Linked DNA regions of Homo sapiens: region 1 is linked to region 2. Evidence: promoter capture Hi-C in 16 types of primary human blood cells and fetal thymus (Javierre and others, 2016). All regions are on one chromosome and are shown on one strand. Each heading gives the region's core, a stretch centred on a gene start or on the middle of the fragment in contact. The rest is flanking DNA. Distances are from core to core; before and after follow the strand shown. Region 1 has its middle 3.2 kb from the start of SMAP1. Region 2 holds the start of EEF1A1 (eukaryotic translation elongation factor 1 alpha 1).

What was found. The method cuts DNA at HindIII sites, captures the fragments that hold promoters and counts their contacts. A CHiCAGO score of 5 or more calls a contact.
Region 1: a contact is called between a fragment that was not itself captured here and the fragment with the promoter of EEF1A1 in region 2, in 1 of 17 cell types (non-activated CD4 T cells). The highest score is 6.4, in non-activated CD4 T cells.

What each region holds. Positions count from the first base shown.
Region 1 is chr6:70,663,254-70,666,116 of GRCh38, forward strand. It overlaps the pseudogene SLC25A6P6. Among named protein-coding and RNA genes, the nearest start is that of SMAP1, 3.2 kb to the right of the region's middle. The HindIII fragment of the contact is 249 bases long and covers 1,175-1,423 here.
Region 2 is chr6:73,519,606-73,522,470 of GRCh38, forward strand. EEF1A1 (eukaryotic translation elongation factor 1 alpha 1) reads right to left here and starts at 1,427. Exons shown (of 8, transcript NM_001402.6): 1 at 1,395-1,427; 2 at 278-451. The coding sequence starts at 421. RefSeq lists enhancers at 1-587, 545-844, 588-1,409, 1,135-1,244, 1,295-1,374 and 1 more and a silencer at 1,955-2,184. The HindIII fragment of the contact is 5,848 bases long and covers 1-2,865 here.

The sequences.
Region 1 (2,863 bases), core at 49-2,548, 2.9 Mb before region 2:
GAGCTGCCTTGTTTGTTGACCCATGGTGATGTCATAATTATCGCCAGTAATCAATGCGTGGATTCAGGGTGCCAATGGTTGAATATGATCATGGTGAACCCCTTTTCTAAAGCCTTCTCTAGTCCTCTACAGAGGTACTATGGCCAGGACCAAGAAAATGAAATTTCTCAAAGGTCAGTGGTCCATAACAGTTAAGTATGCTACATGATTCTCTTGGTTTTCATTTCTAGTGAGGAAACACACTTACTCTTCTTCAATTCCACATACAGGACAGGCCTAAAAGCTCCTCCCATATCTCTGAGAACATTAGACCATGCACTCTTGAAGAAGGCTTTCCCTTTTCCTCCTTAAAAATCTTCCTCCAGCAATTGAGGGTTCCCATGTGCAGTATGTTGGCTCCTTTGGGTCTGCACAGGGCCCAATGGGTAGAAGGTCATGTTGGCCGCACCACCACAGTCTGGGCAATCATCTGGCTCACCATGATGTGGTGGTCTTGGAGTCAGGGAGCATGCCTTAGGCCTTCAGGCTGCCCAGAAAAGGATGATGCCCTGCACAGAGATGCTGAAGCCCTGGTACAGGCCCCAGATCCCATCAGACTTACTTATCTTCACCAGACAGTCTCCTAGGTCTTTGAACCTGAATCCCAGCTCTGTGTACGATTTCCCAACATTGACCACCAGATGGGTTCTGGCAAAACCCAGCAAGTACACAAAACAGAGACAGGTGGCTCTGGCCGCCTTGTTGGAGGCCAGATTGTGGGCAAAACAGCTCTAGAACTGTGTGTGTTCATCCATACTCCCAGGAATAGCTGTGTCTGCTTATCCTTGAATGTGATGTTGAGGGCTTGCTTAAGAAAGTAGTCCACAATTCCTGTGCACTGCTGTCAGCTGTCACCTGCTTCCTAGCGCCTTGCATCTGCTACAGCAGCTTCACCTGCTCAATCAGGGCCACAACTATCTTGGCGACAGCAGCAGCAATGCCACCAGCCAGATGGTCCTTGGCAAAGGAGATCGCCTGTTGTGTCATGGTTGCAGAGCAGGAAGCTGAGCACATGGAGAACTGGGAGGATTAGTGCTGCTGGCTCAGCCCTGTGACTGCTGGACCTAGAGGCCTACCTCTTCTATTCTTGATCTGGGTTAACGGCATTACCATTTACCTTTCTCCCAACTTAGAAAGCTTGATGTTATTCTCACCTTCTTTCTCTTGCCCTCCACATACAGTCAGCTGCCAAATCTTGCTGCTTCTAATTTTAAACCATCATTTGATTCTGTCTCTCCCAAACCCTACGCTACTTGCTTAAAATAGGCCTTCATCATATCTTCTTTGGACTATTATTGAGACAGGCCTGTAATCTGTTCCCTTGATAAGTTTTTCCCCACCATGTTCTCCATACTGCCACTGTATGGAGAGTTACTGAGAAGAAAGCTTATCAAGCCATTTTTCCGTGTAAAAGCTTCTATTGGTTCTATAAACCCATGAGGTTCAAACTCTGTTGCTTGGCTACAAAGCTCTTAACCCTCTGGTGGCAATCTACCTCTCCATCTTGTTTCCTTTCCTACCTTCATGTTCTCCAAACACATTCTAGGTTTCTTGGGCCTCATATCCTCACTATGTCTAGCATATAACCCTGAACTTTCAGAAGTCCATACGTGTTTTTTAAAGCAATTCCTTTCTCTCCGCTCCACCCCCATTCACTTGAAAAATTCCCCCATCTGTTAAAAGCCAAGTTTAAGCATCACCTCCTCCGTGAAACTTTCCCAGATTTTCCCAGGCTACTGGATGTTCTGTTCCTTTTGCTCCGAGAACACTTTATAATTGCTATAAACTTTACAGTGTAGTCCTTTTCTATTTACATATTTGTAGCTCATAGTAGACTGTAAGCTTCTGATTATTAGTGTACTAGATAGAAGTTGTTTGATAAATACTGGTGAATAAATGCAATGTTGTTTTCTTCCCAGGATGTTTTGGGGACCAGTCTCTTTCTTCCTACTATAGTCTTAAAATACAATCAACTCAAATTTATATTTTAATAGCCTCTAAGCTGACCATCTAGAACCACACTATTCAATAATGTATCCACTAGTCACATGTGGCTGCTGAACATTTGAAATTCATCTACTCCAGGCTGGGCGCAGTGCCTCACACCTGTAATCCCAGCACTTTGGGAGGCCAAGGTGGGAGGATAGCTTGAGGCTAGGAGTTCAAGACCATGCTGGCCCACATAGTGAGACCCCATGGACCAGCAGGGTCTCGAACTCCTAGGCTCAATTTTTTGATAATTTCTTTATTAAAAAATAAATTCAGCCACTCCAAAATGAAATGAGCTGTGTTATACAGCATTTTGAAGAGAATATGAAAACAAGAATGGAAAGAAAATATGCCATGTTTTATATTACATCTCAAAAATATTTTGGATACATTGAGTTAAATCAAATGTATTAGTAAAATGTATTTTATGTTTCTTTTTCTGTTTTTAAATGTGGCTACTGCATTATTTAAAGTTATACGTGTGGCACGCAAGTATTTGTACTGGACATTGCTGTGACCCTTCAATCCATCCTGAAGGTTGTTTTTTGGTGGTAAACCTGTATTCTGTTTTTCTGAGTCCTCACAGTGCTGAACAGAATTTTTGTAGGGAGGAGAGGTACTCAAAAAATGGTGTTTGTTTACTGGTTACTGCAGGACTAACTTTCCCAAAAGATCCTTTTTATTATGCTATTATCCTACTTGAAGAATCTACAGGTTTTCTTTTTCTTTTTTTGGGGGGGGGGTGGGTGGGGAAGGAGTTTTGCTCTTGTTGCCCAGGCTGGAGTGCAATGGCCTGATCTCCGCTCACTGCAACCTCTGCCTCCCGGGTTCAAGC
Region 2 (2,865 bases), core at 177-2,676:
CTTTACAACTCCAAGTCCAAAGTGATTTTAGTCACTTTGGGTTACAGAAGCAACCAAAAATCAAACTTTTATAAGTCGGATCTTAACTATTAACATCCAAATCTACTCACTAGCAATACGATTACAGAAGTCACCAAAAGCAAAATTATTTCATAAGTAAGGTCTTAACTATTAGCATTCAGATCTAAACCACTCACTAGTTCTGGGGAAATCACCTAATGATTCTGCTGGTAAAACTCATTTTAGTTGATCTTTCCCTTTCTGGTATTAAACATACCTCAGCAGCCTCCTTCTCAAATTTTTCAATGGTTCTTTTGTCGATGCCACCGCATTTATAGATCAGATGGCCAGTAGTGGTGGACTTGCCCGAATCTACGTGTCCAATGACGACAATGTTGATATGAGTCTTTTCCTTTCCCATTTTGGCTTTTAGGGGTAGTTTTCACGACACCTGAAATGGAAGAAAAAAACTTTGAACCACTGTCTGAGGCTTGAGAATGAACCAAGATCCAAACTCAAAAAGGGCAAATTCCAAGGAGAATTACATCAAGTGCCAAGCTGGCCTAACTTCAGTCTCCACCCACTCAGTGTGGGGAAACTCCATCGCATAAAACCCCTCCCCCCAACCTAAAGACGACGTACTCCAAAAGCTCGAGAACTAATCGAGGTGCCTGGACGGCGCCCGGTACTCCGTGGAGTCACATGAAGCGACGGCTGAGGACGGAAAGGCCCTTTTCCTTTGTGTGGGTGACTCACCCGCCCGCTCTCCCGAGCGCCGCGTCCTCCATTTTGAGCTCCCTGCAGCAGGGCCGGGAAGCGGCCATCTTTCCGCTCACGCAACTGGTGCCGACCGGGCCAGCCTTGCCGCCCAGGGCGGGGCGATACACGGCGGCGCGAGGCCAGGCACCAGAGCAGGCCGGCCAGCTTGAGACTACCCCCGTCCGATTCTCGGTGGCCGCGCTCGCAGGCCCCGCCTCGCCGAACATGTGCGCTGGGACGCACGGGCCCCGTCGCCGCCCGCGGCCCCAAAAACCGAAATACCAGTGTGCAGATCTTGGCCCGCATTTACAAGACTATCTTGCCAGAAAAAAAGCGTCGCAGCAGGTCATCAAAAATTTTAAATGGCTAGAGACTTATCGAAAGCAGCGAGACAGGCGCGAAGGTGCCACCAGATTCGCACGCGGCGGCCCCAGCGCCCAAGCCAGGCCTCAACTCAAGCACGAGGCGAAGGGGCTCCTTAAGCGCAAGGCCTCGAACTCTCCCACCCACTTCCAACCCGAAGCTCGGGATCAAGAATCACGTACTGCAGCCAGGGGCGTGGAAGTAATTCAAGGCACGCAAGGGCCATAACCCGTAAAGAGGCCAGGCCCGCGGGAACCACACACGGCACTTACCTGTGTTCTGGCGGCAAACCCGTTGCGAAAAAGAACGTTCACGGCGACTACTGCACTTATATACGGTTCTCCCCCACCCTCGGGAAAAAGGCGGAGCCAGTACACGACATCACTTTCCCAGTTTACCCCGCGCCACCTTCTCTAGGCACCGGTTCAATTGCCGACCCCTCCCCCCAACTTCTCGGGGACTGTGGGCGATGTGCGCTCTGCCCACTGACGGGCACCGGAGCCTCACGCATGCTCTTCTCCACCTCAGTGATGACGAGAGCGGGCGGGTGAGGGGGCGGGAACGCAGCGATCTCTGGGTTCTACGTTAGTGGGAGTTTAACGACGGTCCCTGGGATTCCCCAAGGCAGGGGCGAGTCCTTTTGTATGAATTACTCTCAGCTCCGGTCGGGGCGGGTTGGGGGGGGTGGTGACGGGGAGGCCGCCTGGAAGGGACGTGCAGAATCTTCCCTCTACCATTGCTGGCTTAGCTCCAAAGGTTGTATTGAGATTAGGGTGTACCTTCGCCTCTCAATCAGCCTCCCGTCCTCAGCCTTGCCATCTCGCTAGTCCGGGACAAATCCCTAGAGCGTCTTCCTCTGCGGGTCTCAGCCCAGCCCGGGGTTGGCTCCTCCTCCGCCCCGGCTTCCGCGCCCCTCCCGTGTGGCAAGGAGTACCAGGCCCGGGGACCCCGAGGGGCTTGGGGCGAAGGGTCGGGACTGGGGGCCTCCTTAACGGCTCACGGACTTGCGAGAGGTTCGGCTCGATGGCCGTGAAAGCGACGAATCCGCTCCTGTGCTGGCCTCTTGGCTCCTTCCATTCAAAGCCAGCTGCTTTTATGGAAGCCCGTAACACGTCATCTCCCCCTGGTACTCCAGATGTCCAGGCTTTCAGTTTAGAATAGACTCAGTCCTACAGTTAGCTTTAGATCTAATTCTAGTTTTGTTACGCCAAAAAGTTCCTGCGAGTGTGTGTGTGTGCCTCATGGTACTTTTTAAATTAAAAGGTGTACAGTTATTTGATTGCAAACATAAGGAACCTAAAATGCTTTCAGATTTTCCACATGATCTCATGTAGAGGCTAAGATCTACAGCATCAGCAAGTTTATCCACCCAGTTTCCTAACCCCAACACTTGCTATGAAGTCACAGCTTCTCCTATTTAAATAAGTGCCTATTATATTTAAATAAGTGCTGTCGTTTTCTGTCATCCTATCGATTGTAACTGCATTTTAGCATAAATCTAGGGCAAGATTGGATGAGCTTGGCCTTTTTGGATGGCTATCAAGGCAGGCCTTGGGAAATGCTCCTCTGAGGAAAGAAGAACGTTTATTTTTAATGAGCTAATTACTAGATCATTATGTTTCTTCTTCCAGCTGTAGAATATCATTGCCCAGCTTCTCGAACAAACTTATTTATTAACAAGTATTTGAGAACCTACTATGTGGCCAACGCTAAGTACTGTGGAGTTCCTTCTGGAGAGGAAAC